Regions from separate parts of the Homo sapiens genome. Here all the other regions are linked to region 1. Evidence: promoter capture Hi-C in 16 types of primary human blood cells and fetal thymus (Javierre and others, 2016). All regions are on one chromosome and are shown on one strand. The core of a region is centred on a gene start or on the middle of the fragment in contact, and the rest is flanking DNA. Distances in the headings are between cores, read along the strand shown. Region 1 holds the start of LINC01352 (long intergenic non-protein coding RNA 1352). Region 2 overlaps LOC105372932 (a long non-coding RNA gene). Region 3 overlaps LOC105372932 (a long non-coding RNA gene). Region 4 overlaps LOC105372932 (a long non-coding RNA gene).

Evidence for each region. The method cuts DNA at HindIII sites, captures the fragments that hold promoters and counts their contacts. A CHiCAGO score of 5 or more calls a contact.
Region 2: a fragment that was not itself captured here is called in contact with the fragment with the promoter of LINC01352 in region 1 in 4 of 17 cell types (M1 macrophages, M0 macrophages, erythroblasts and 1 more); the score reaches 7.3 in M1 macrophages.
Region 3: a fragment that was not itself captured here is called in contact with the fragment with the promoter of LINC01352 in region 1 in 7 of 17 cell types (neutrophils, M0 macrophages, M2 macrophages and 4 more); the score reaches 12.4 in neutrophils.
Region 4: a contact is called between a fragment that was not itself captured here and the fragment with the promoter of LINC01352 in region 1, in 6 of 17 cell types (neutrophils, monocytes, M2 macrophages and 3 more). The highest score is 15.3, in neutrophils.

Annotation. Positions count from the first base shown.
Region 1 is chr1:220,827,652-220,830,649 of GRCh38, reverse strand. It overlaps LINC01352 (long intergenic non-protein coding RNA 1352), which reads right to left and starts at 1,395. Exons shown (of 4, transcript NR_110797.1): 1 at 1,208-1,395. The HindIII fragment of the contact is 6,544 bases long and covers 1-2,998 here.
Region 2 is chr1:221,459,010-221,462,007 of GRCh38, reverse strand. All of the region lies in intron 3 of LOC105372932 (a long non-coding RNA gene), which reads right to left. Among named protein-coding and RNA genes, the nearest start is that of LINC02817, 120 kb to the right of the region's middle. The HindIII fragment of the contact is 209 bases long and covers 1,508-1,716 here.
Region 3 is chr1:221,440,919-221,443,916 of GRCh38, reverse strand. All of the region lies in intron 3 of LOC105372932 (a long non-coding RNA gene), which reads right to left. Among named protein-coding and RNA genes, the nearest start is that of LINC02817, 110 kb to the right of the region's middle. The HindIII fragment of the contact is 6,194 bases long and covers 1-2,998 here.
Region 4 is chr1:221,420,218-221,423,215 of GRCh38, reverse strand. All of the region lies in intron 3 of LOC105372932 (a long non-coding RNA gene), which reads right to left. Among named protein-coding and RNA genes, the nearest start is that of LINC02817, 85 kb to the right of the region's middle. The HindIII fragment of the contact is 6,744 bases long and covers 1-2,998 here.

The sequences.
Region 1 (2,998 bases), core at 146-2,645:
CAAGGTCAAGATCCAAGACTAAAACCAATTGCTTCTCTGTTTTGCTTATTACTACAGCACAGAAATAAAGAAATAGAGAATGGGAGAGGAGAGGTAGGTGTGGGGAGGCGATATGAAAACATGGAACAAGTGCTCTGCTTTTAGAATAACTAGAACTTTGAGCCCAGAAGATTTCTTTTCTTTTAATAAATAAATGTTTTATAATCTTACTTCTGTGGCTGGTGGGAAAAAAAGTCCTTCAAGTCCCCAAGGAATGTTAGGAAAACCTCCATTAAATTCTAGTCTTCAAATCTGAGTCATAATAACTATAATAAACTCTGGGAGTGTTTCCTTAGAGTTTCTCTTTTAGGGTGGAGAGGAGGCAGCAAAAAGAATAGGCAAGTTTTCACAAGAAAAACTTGTAAATAGGCAAGTATAACAAGAAAATGTATAAACCGGGATGGCTTCATAATTAGGCATAGCCTAATTGTGCTTATGTGTCTAGTCAAGAAACTCTATCTAGAGTTCCAGGGGAAGAAGGTGTTGGGGATGAGGGAGTAGGATTGGTTTGAGGGTAGTAGACTATATAAGGCATCATGCTCCTTCCCATGGAGGGGATGTATGATGGTTAATATTAGGTGTCAACTTGATTAGATTGAAGGATGCAAACTATTGTTCCTGGATGTGTCTGTGAGGGTGTTGCCAAAGATATTAACTTTTGAGTCAGTGGACTGGGAGAGGCAGACCCACCCTCAATCTGGGCGGGCACCATCTAATCAGCTGCCAGCACAGCCAGAATAAAAGCACACAGAGGAACATGGAAGGAGTAGACTTGCTGAGTCTTCCAGCCTTCATCATTCTCTCGTGCTGGATACTTCCTGCCCTCGAACAACAGACTCCAAGTTCTTCAGCTTTTGGACTCTTGGATTTACACCAGCAGTTTGCCGGGGGCTCTGGGGCCTTCAGAAGGCTGCACTGTCAGCTTCCCTACTTTTGAGGTTTGGGGACTCGGACTGGCTTCCCTGCTCTTCGGCTTGCAGACAGCCTATTGTGGGACTTCACCTTGTGCTCATGCAAGTCAATACTACTTAATAAGCTCCCCCTCATTTATACATCTATCCTGTTAGTTCTGTCCCTCTAGAGAAACCTGACTAATATAGCATGTGTATGTGCTTTTCCCTTTGCTTGGAATGCTTGTCCCCACTCTGACCCTAAGCACCACCACAACCTTCCTTCCTGGAGCTCAGGCTGTTATCCTCCAGGGCTCTGCTGATTCCCTGGGCACCCCGCACTCTGCTTCACAGCACTCATCACATTTGTCACTTGTGTAATTTGTTGCTTATCCCAGGCTTCCGTATTACATGATAAGCTCCATTAATGACAGTGTTGTCTGCCTTGGTTTTGTTCATGATGAGCACAGTGCCTGGCCCACAGTACCAGCTCACTAAGTATTTAGCAAAGGGCTTTATGAGGTCATCCCTGGCTCCAGCACCTCACAATCTTTATGGTGACTGTTCAGAGGGCAGCTAAGCAGAAAAGAAGTTTTCAACAAGGCTGTTTCTGGCCTGTTTTCCCTCTCAGTACTACATGGCAAGTCACGTCTCCAAACTGAGGAGTGTGCCTGAAGAGTCAGGTCTGGCAGAGAAAGGATTTCTTGCCCTAGGTTTAAACAAGCAATGTCAACATAACTTCCAAAGGCATCGGCTGCTTGGAAGAAGTGAATCCCTTGGGTCATTCCCTTGATTATTGTGAACCCGTGGCTGAGCAGGACAGAAATGTCACACAGGTGGACTGAGAACAAAATGATTTCAGATATGGGAGCCCCAAAGTGGCATCCCAAGGACAAGTGCTCAGAATTGCATGACTTGGTTTTCTGTTGAGCTATTCTGTCTTGGATAATTACAGCATGAGCTCTTGGCCAGTGGTGGGAATTAATTGGTTTTAATTCTCCCGCAAAGATTCTCTTAAGTAAAAGTAAAACATTTGCAAACTGGAGTTCTTTGAGTTATTGGTAACAACTTACTTTGCACCTCATAGCACACTGGTTAATAGCCTCCGCCAAATAACTAATATTTAGGCACTTTGCTAATGTATGCAAAGTGCTTTTAAGTATTATGCTATTAAATCTTCACAACATCACAGGTAGGTATTAGCACCATCTTACCTATTTTATGGATATCCAAACAGAGGTCTTCAAAAGTTAGAAAATCTGCACAGTCACAGAGCCAGTGGAGCCACAGCTGAGGCATGGACAGGCTGCTCTCCTACCACCTGCCAGGCCGCTCTTGCCCAGCTCATGAGGTCCAAAGTTTTCTCAACAAACTGCTTGGTGTCGATGTTGTAACCTGGAGCATTGCCCTGCAGCAGAAAGGCAGGCCTGGACATTCGCATGTCAGCATGGGGCGAAGCTGATAATTTCCAGTTGGGATCCAAGAAAAAGAAAAGCTCTCCACATGCCAACAACATTGTTATGAAGCTCTCTTGACCCAGCTACCCAACAGTGATCTCAAACATTTGGTCTCTCCAGTGTGTGTATGGGGGTGGGGGGCAGCTGGGCGTGTAGCCTTGTACACTTTGCACTTGGAGAGGTAGGGACAGGGGTCTAAATTAAGGGAAACCCTGCCCAGGGGCTGGCTTTGGGAAGCATGCCCAGCAGCCATGTGGAAGTTCACTGCATTACGGTGAATTACACCAGGTGGGGTGAGTACAGGACAAGGAAGTAGAAGTCAGAGCCTGCTTTTCAAAATCACCCTGCAGGCTGTTGTCCCCAGAAGAAGAGATCAACCTCAGGGGAGACCAGAGTCCTAAACACAAAACAAAAGAGTAATAAGGGAGGAAGCAAATGAAGTTGCTTATCTCATTTATTTATTTTTCTCTCCCATTTCCGCCTATGCTCCTCCAACTGAACCCCCCCTAGTCTCTGGTTTCCTGGCCACTATCTGGCCAATAACCTCCACATTAGCATCCCCAGCCCCTCTGTGCCCCCTGTAATCTCTTCTCCAGGCTTTGCTGAGGACTG
Region 2 (2,998 bases), core at 363-2,862, 630 kb before region 1:
CTTGAATAGTGTGTAATGGGGTCTCCACAGGACAAAAGGAGTTTATTACCAGAAGAATGTTAAAGAGAAGGTATGCTGGATAAAGAAAACCTGTAAATAGCATATAGTCCTTTACATGTATTCCTGGTGAGAAAGGATGAAGGTTTGAAATAAGGGATAATATAAACAGGGGAAGAGGTGCTCAACATCTTAGTCACTAGGTTAAAGCCAATCGGTAAAGTACAATGAGATCCATGCCACACACTCACTAGAATGGTTAAAATAAAAAAGCTGCAAATAACAAGCATTAGCTAGGACGTAGAGAAACTGGAGGCTCATGCATTGCTGGCAGGAAGAAATGGTACAGCCATTTTAGAAAAGAGTTTGTCAGTTTCTTAAAAAATTAAACATATATTCATCACATGACCCAGCAATTCTACTCCTATATATCTAGCAAGAGAAATGAAAACATACGCCCACAAAAAGATAGGTACACAGATATTTATAACAGCATTATTTATAGCAGCCCCAAACTAGAAACAACCAAAATGCCCATCAATGGATACATAGACAGACAAATTGTGGTATAGCCATAAAATGGAATACTATTCAGCAATAAAAAAACAAGGTAATGACACACGTTGCAACATAGCTGAATCTCAACAACATCACGCTAAGTGAAAGAAGCCAGATGCAAAAGACCACCTGATTCTATTTATATGAAATGTCCAGAAAAGGCAACCCATAGAGACAGAAGGTAGTTCCATGGTTGTCAGAGACTCAGCAAGTGGGGATTAATTGCAACTGTGCCCCAGGGAACTTTTGGGGAAGGGAAAGTGTTCTAAATCGGGATTGTGGGGACTGTTGCACAAATGTATAATTTTACTCAAACTAATCAAACTTTACACTTACAATGGGTAGATTTCTGGTTTTTAAATTCGTAGGTTGGTGCAAAAGTTATTGCAATTTTTGCCATTACTTTTAATGGCAATTTCAATATTTCAATAAAGCGATTTTAAAATGATGTCAGGGGAGAAGTGAATAAGATGTATTTGAAAGAAGCAGGAAAAGAAGAATATAGAAGATTCCAGACTCAGTGGCTGGTTTTCTGTGAAGGACAAGTGAGAAGAATTTAAGGTGACTTTGTGGTGATGCTTAACAAATACAAGAATGATACCAAGTAAGTGCTCAAAGAAACAACAGTAAAACTAAGTCTATATGATCCTCTTCATTTTATAAGCAAAGCAACTCTCTTTTTCTAGTCCCTTAAAAGTTTAGGATTGGAAGAAATTTCATGGCTTCATTTTCTTAGCTCTCACCAGAGTCTTGATTCTTTAAAAGAAACACTTCCAGAATGTCTGATACAAAGAAAACTAAGAGCATGTTAATTCTCAGGAAAGGCTCTGCTAGTAAGGGTTATGTTTTATTTTAGGAGCACAGAGGCTAAGATACCTTTAGAAACCTTGGCCCACTGGGGACATAATAAACCTCTTCTTTTTTTAGCCTCTTCCCTGAAGTAATCAAAGCTTCTTCTCACTGTTACATGAGTTAAACAGTACAATATCTCAGAGAGAGAAATTTCTACTTATACATCAGTTAATCCTACCATTTCTGATGATTTAGTTTGGAAGAAAGCTAGCTTTCCCTATGAAGACTAGATTTCAAAAAGGATATTCTTCTAAATTTTTGGTTTTTTGTTCAAGAAAAACTCAGTACCTGACTGCTTTCCCCAAAGCTTCCCCAAGTTAATTTTTCATTAGCCTATGGATGAGTGTAGTCTGACTACAAAGCTACCTAGATGCATTTCTCTACCAATACATTGAAAATAAACTTAGCTTGGAAGATTTGATACAAAATTATTTAGTACAGTTTACAAATAAATAGATGATCTATAACTATAGAGTTTTTAAACATCAGGAGAAAAACATTATATAGGACATAGTTTCATATTAATATTCCCTATCACATAAAAACACTACATATTGGCTCTTTTATTACTAGTATATTTCATGCAATTATTTGAAATCGTACATCATTTTGTTTTGAAATTTATTTTATATTCTGACCAAAAATCAAGGTTGGAAGAAGGAAAAAAAACGAAATGTATTACTAGAAGGTATAAAAACTTCTGTCCTATCCAGATTCATTTTTGAACAAAGGCACACCTTCTGTTTAGGTAGAAATATCCATTTATTCTTCTGAGATGTTGGAATGCTATGGAACATGGTTATACCTGGCAATAATTACCTGCCTTGTCCTTGGCTGGAGGGATCTAGAATCTCCACTTCACCCACTAAGGAGTTACAAGGGTACTTAACTGTTGTTAGTGAGCAGAACCAAATTTTGATTCAAGCCACTTACTAGAAATTGAGCAACAACAAATTTCTGGTCTTAATAATTCCTACATGAACTCTACAAGATAAGTCTTGAATGAAGTCCTACCATCTTCACCCATTTTCTTATCAGGTGACCAGTTATAAGGTCTTGAAAGATAACTATTATTCCTTTACACTGGAATTTTCCTAAACAGTTTGAAAACTATTTTCCTATCTATATGTAACATTTGGCTTTTCTGAATAAGTATAAAATGATAGAAGGAAGCTCTTCTAAGTTTCCCCAACTTCTCTTCTCTTCATAAATCCATGAGTAAGTTACAAATTTTTTTAACGCCTTCAAACATCCAAGAGAAGTGTATCTACCAGTTTAATATGCAGGTATCAAGGATAATAGAATCTTGTAACTTAAGGAACAATGTAGATGAAAAAGTCTCCAAATGCAATCTCTCTCAGGTAACAAGAAGAACAGAAATTTCCAGGTCACTAAATTTGGTGGGAAACTCAAAATAAGGCTTTTGCCTTTAGTTTACAGAAATAAGACTACAGATGTACTTCACTTTAAGAAAATCCAATATACATGGAACTTTATCTAATTCAAGCAATGATTACTCAAATTACAAAATGATTCTTTCCTTCACATGGAAAGTTTCCAGTAGATGTTCGTTACTGATCATTTCTTGAGA
Region 3 (2,998 bases), core at 306-2,805, 610 kb before region 1:
TCCACCCCAAGTGTTAAGATCAGAATGTTTAGAGCCTTCAAAAACAAGGGCTGAGGTGGAGCTGGTCATACAGAGACCTATCAGCTGAGGAGTCTCCCATGGGGATGATGGGAAGTGTGCTGTTATTTCTTGTACCCTAGGACTAAGGGCAGTAGAAGGGAAATGACTGATCTAATTTTTTTTGGGGGGGGACGGAGTCTCGCTCTTTCACCCAGGCCAGACTGCAATGATTTATCTAATTTTTTTAAAGGAAATTTTTTTAATTCTAATGTGCACACTGCAAATTGAAGCTAATTATTAAAACTTTTGCTTTTTCTTATATAAAATTAAAGCCTGCTTGTTGTAGAAAAGCGCAAAGGTGAAAACTTCACCCAGGAACACCTACAGTGCTCAGGCAGGTAATCAAAATATACACAAAGTGAGTAGGTCCTTGGAGAATAGTGTAAAGAGGGGTAACAGAACAGAAAAGGTTAAGTGAACAAAAATGTCCAGAAGTCAAACGCAACCTTAAGCTGTCAGTTTGTAATCTCTCATTTAAAACCATCATAATTTCTTCAGTCATAGACTACCGCTGTTAAAAATATAATGTGGGCTGAGAGCGGTAGTTCACTCCTGTGATCCCAGCACTCTGGGAGGCAAAGGCAGGTGGATCACGAGGTCAAGAGATCCAGACCCTGGCCAACATGGTGAAACCTCGTCTCTACCAAAAATAAAAAAATTAGCTGGCCGCAGTGGCACGTGCCCGTAGTCCCAGCTACTCGGGAGGCTGAGGCAGGAGAATCGCTTGAACCCGGGAGGCGGAGGTTACAGTGAGCCGAGATCGTGCCACTGCACTTCAGTTTGGTGACAGAGCGAGACTGCATCTCAAAAAAAAAAAAAAATGTAATGTGTGTTCTTTCAGTTCTTTACCTATACACATAATAGTATGTTCATATATGTTTAACTTTGTAACAGAAATGATAACCTAATGAACATTTTTTCCTAGGTTAGTTTATTTAATATACCATGAGCATTGTTTCATAAACACACTATTTTAATGGCTGCACAATTCTTTTTAACACACGCCTTTATTCAATGATTTCCTCTTTGGGGACATTATGTTGCTCTCTTCCAAATGTGCCTAAATGTCCAAATAAACATCTGAAAGTCTTTGAGGTAACCTGGTTCCAAAATGGTTATTCCTATAGCTTTTCACTTAGATCTGTGTGGACCCTTGAAAGCTGGGTGGTCTCTTAGAGGCAGAAGGTTCCCAGAACCTGAGGTGCTGTCTGGTCTGGGATTTATGAAATCAGCGTCTTGCTGTTTGTTAACACACAAAGTGTGTGCTGATGGAAGGATGCCACATCACATTTATGTTTTGTCACCAAACATGTAGTGTTTGATTAAAAAATTGGGAATTGATCAAGCATGGAAAACATTAACTTACATTTTACCTGAAGTTTTCTTGATATAACTTTGAATTTTATTTAAAGTAGAATAAAAATGTTCCCATAGCAAAGTACCGTCACTTCAAATAAACCTTTTCCTTTCCACTTTCTCAGCAGAACCACTGCAGCAATTGCCAGCTATTTGGTGAGTCCCTTCTCTCTCTGCTCCTAATCTGCTCCTCATTGTTCTGAAAACAGTTCCATGACCATGTCACTCTTTTGTTCACTGACCATCAATGGTTCCTCACTGTTCACAGAATAAAGCTCCATTTTATAGATAGGCATTCAAGGCATTTCACTTGAGGCTCTAAACTGCTTTTGCCACCTCATTTTCCATGTTCTCCTTCATAAATTGTTTGCTATAGTCAAACTGACTAATACGAAAAACTATCTTTAACCTCCGCCTGCATGTATTAAGTGGATTTTCTTAAATACCTACAACAACCCTGAAAAGTGCAATTGTTATTTTTAGTCTGTATATGAAGAACCAGTGCATAAGGGAAAGAGGTAGGATTTGAACCCTGAGTTTTTCCACTATGCCCATTTTTTTCCATTTTTTATTGTGGTAAAATACACATAAAATTTACAGTTTTTACCATTTTAAGTGTACAGTTTAGTGTTACTAAATACATTCATAATGCACATCCATCACCCCATCCATGTCCATAAATTTTTGTCCTGTAAAACTAAAATTCTATACCCATTAAACAATGACTCCTCTTTCTCTCCTCCCCTACAGCCCCTGAAAAACACCATTCTATATTCTGTTTCTATGACTGTGATTTCTCAACTATATCATGTAAGTGGAATCATGCAGTATTTTCTTTTGATGAGTAGCTCATTTCATTAGCATCCTGTCCTCAAGGCTTATCCATGTTGTAGTGTATGGCAGGATTTTCTTCCTTTTTAAGGCTATTTTGTTTATCCTTTCGTCCACTGATGGACATTTGGGTTGCTTCCTTGTTTTGGCTATTATGAATATGGCTGCTATGAACATGGATGAAGTAAATATCTCTTTGAAACCCTGCTTTTGGTTATAGACCCAGAAGTTCCCACTAAGCCCTTTTGCTTTGGATTCCCTACGCAGAGCCCTCTAATTGGACTTTTACTTTCCTGCCTTTGAGCTTTTCCTTTTACTGCGCAGCCTACCTGGCCTGTCCTATTTTGGTTCCCTGCCTATTGAAGTCCTGTTTATTCTGCAAGGCTCTTCTATTTGTACCTAGCCCAATGCCTTTCACACAGTAGGTGCTCAATAACTAATATATAGTTAGATATATCTTTGCCATATCTGTGCTAAAACAACATAAAAAGGTAGGAGGCAGAAATGATGTCTTATTATCCCTTATGGCCTGCACACAGTAAACAGTTTAGGAAAAGTTTATTAAATAAATAAAGTCCCCATGCCCCCTGGAACAAAAGGTATGCAGGGCAGTGTATTTCATGGGCTGTCCAAGACCTCATGTCAGAAACGTATGTTTAGGCAGCAAGAACACACAAGAGGCAAGAGAGTAAGAAAGTACGCTGGAAAATTTTGCTAGCTGGGTCAATTCCAATTTGGCAAAAACAAGCCT
Region 4 (2,998 bases), core at 228-2,727, 590 kb before region 1:
TACGGACTTTTTAAATTACACTTTTTATTTTAGAATACTTTTAGAGTCATAGAAAAGTTGCAAGGATAATGTGTAGGATACAGAGAGTTTCCATATACCCTACACTCAGTTTACTTATTATTAACATCTAAAAATATTACGGTAAATTTGTTAAAACTGAGGAAGCAATATTAATATGTTATTAACAATTAAAGTTCATACTTTGTTCATATTTCTTTTGTGCTTATCTATTTTTTTTCTGTTCCAGAATACATTTCATTTATCTATCTTGTCCTTTGAACTCCTTTATATAGTAACAATTTGTTAGACTTTTCTTGCTTTTGATGACTTTGATAATTTTACAGAGTATTTGTCAGTCATTTTGTAGAATGTTCTTCCTTTGGATTTGTCTAATCGTTTTCTCATGGTTAGCGGGTTATGGTTTTTTGGGGAGAAGTAAAATGCTATTTTCATCACATCATTTCAAAGGGATGTAGTATTGACATGACTTATCATTAATGATGTTAACTTTGATCACTTTCCCTCAAGTAGTGTTTGTCAAGTTTCTCTACTGTTAAGTTATTCTTTTTTTCACTTTCTACGTGCCCTTTAGAAGGAAGTCACTATACACAGTTCACATTACAGGATGGAGACTTATGCTCCTTTGGGGAGAGGGCATGAGGATATTTATGCAAATTATTTGAAATTTCTCTGCATGGTAGATTTGTCTCTTCTCTGTTATTTGTTTATTCAATAATTTATTTATGTCAGTATAAACTGATGGATATTTATTTTATACTTTGTGTTATAATTTAATTGTAGGCTATTTATTGCTTTGCTTTCAAATTATTTCAGCTATGACTTTTTATGGATTTTTAAAGTTAAATTTTTTTTTTTTTTTTGAGACGGAGTCTTGCTCTGTTGCCCAGGCTGGAATGCAGTGGCATGATCTTGGTTCACTGCAAGCTCCGCCTCCTGGGTTCATGCCATTCTCCTGCTTCAGCCTCCCGAGTAGTTGGGACTACAGGTGCCCACCACCGCGCCCGGCTAATTTTTTGTATTTTTAGTAGAGACGGGGTTTCACCGCGTTAGCCAGGATGGTCTTGATCTCCTGACCTTGTGATCTGCCCGCCTCGGCCTCCCAAAGTGCTGGGATTACAGGTGTGAGCCACTACCCCCGGCCATAAGGTTAAATATTTTAAAGTTTAAAAGCCATCTTTTGACTATCTACTTCTATTTCATTGCATTGTGACTAGGTAAAATAATCTGTATAGTACACATTATTTATGATGTATTAGTGTTTTTAATATCCTATCAGATGGTAAGTTTTGTAAATAATCCAAATACCTAAAATAACTTTCATTTTCAAATCATTGAAAGAAATTTCCTACGTATGCTGTTAGATAGTAACTTTACTAGATTTTTTTCCTCTTTTTAAAAAATTAATTATTATGGGTAAATAGTTGTATATTTTTATGGGGTACACGTGATGTTTTGGTACAGGCAAACAATGTGTAATGATCAAATCAGGTTAATTGGGGTATCCATCTGGATTTTTTTCTGTTTAATATAATGAAAATATATATACATATATGAAATCAGAAATAGATATAGAACTCTCCCACCACTGCGATGGTAAAAAGTCTCACATTTCTCTTTATACATCTGCCATTTTATTTATATATTTTGCAACTGCATTATTAGAAATATTCAAGATTAGATGTGTTTATTTTCCTTGATAAATTAAAGCTGAAATCTTATGTAGTAGCTTTTCTTTTTTGAGACAGAGTCTCGCTCTGTCACCCAGGCTGGAGTGCAGTGGTACAATCTCAGCTCACTGCAACCTTGCCTCCCGGGTTCAAGTGATTCTCCTGCCTCAGCCTCCTGAGTAGCTGGGACTACAGGCACGCACCACCATGCTTGGCTAATTTTTATATTTTTAGTAGAGATGGGGTTTCACCATCTTGGCCAGTCTGGTCTTGAACTCCTGACCTCACGATCCACCTGCCTCAGCCTCCCAAAGTGTTGGGATTACAGGCATGAGGCCTTTTTTTATCTTTAATAATGCTTTTATTAAAGTCTTACCTTTCTGACAGTCTAAAATTACATAACGTTTCCTTTGATTAGTGTTTGCCTGGTATTTTTTTTCAATAGTTTAATATTTCCTGTGTCCTTATGTTTTAGAAGTATCCATTGTAAATAGCACATGTTGGATTAAAAAGATATATTAGTTTCACAATCTTTGTCTTTGGATAGGAAAACAATTCATATTTATTATGTAACAATATAAGCACATGTATTTCTACTTTACCTTTGTATTTATTCTGCTTTTCTAAGTTTCTTCTTTGTGCTTTTCTTACTTATTTTGTAGTGCTTGGTTTTCTTGGAAAGTGTACATTCTGGTATTTTTAGTGATTACCTTAGAAATTTAGTATGTGTGTACAACTTACCAACATCTATAATTCATTGATATCTTCTCCCTTTAACAGTATAAGAAACTCAAAAAATTTAGATTATCTTTTTCTTATTTTATATATTACTATTGATTAATACATTTCCTGTGTTTCAATCACATGAGTAGGCTCAAATATATATTTTAAAGTTTTTAAAAATTCAATTTATTCTCCATTTTTTTTTAGTTTGTATTTTTTAACAGTATCTTACTCCTCATCTTGCTAGAAATAGAAGTTCCACCCTACATTTCCGATTTTCCAGAGAACTCCTTAAAATATCTACCGGGTTGGCTTTCACAGTACCTATCTGTCACATGATTATGACATGTATGTATTAATTCTCTCCTCCTTTAATGAGAGTCTCTTGACAGGAGTAGGCCACCACGAAGAAAGTTTAAAATGTTGGCTTTGCAGTGAAGTTTCCTGACGCCTGATTATCTTTGTCTGGTTTAAGAACATAATTGTTTTTCTCTTGTTCATCATAAAAATAATATTTCTTTTTACTATCTTCTTTACTCAAAAAAGTGGATTTTTAACAACCTTTGGATTATAACAATGCACTGGAA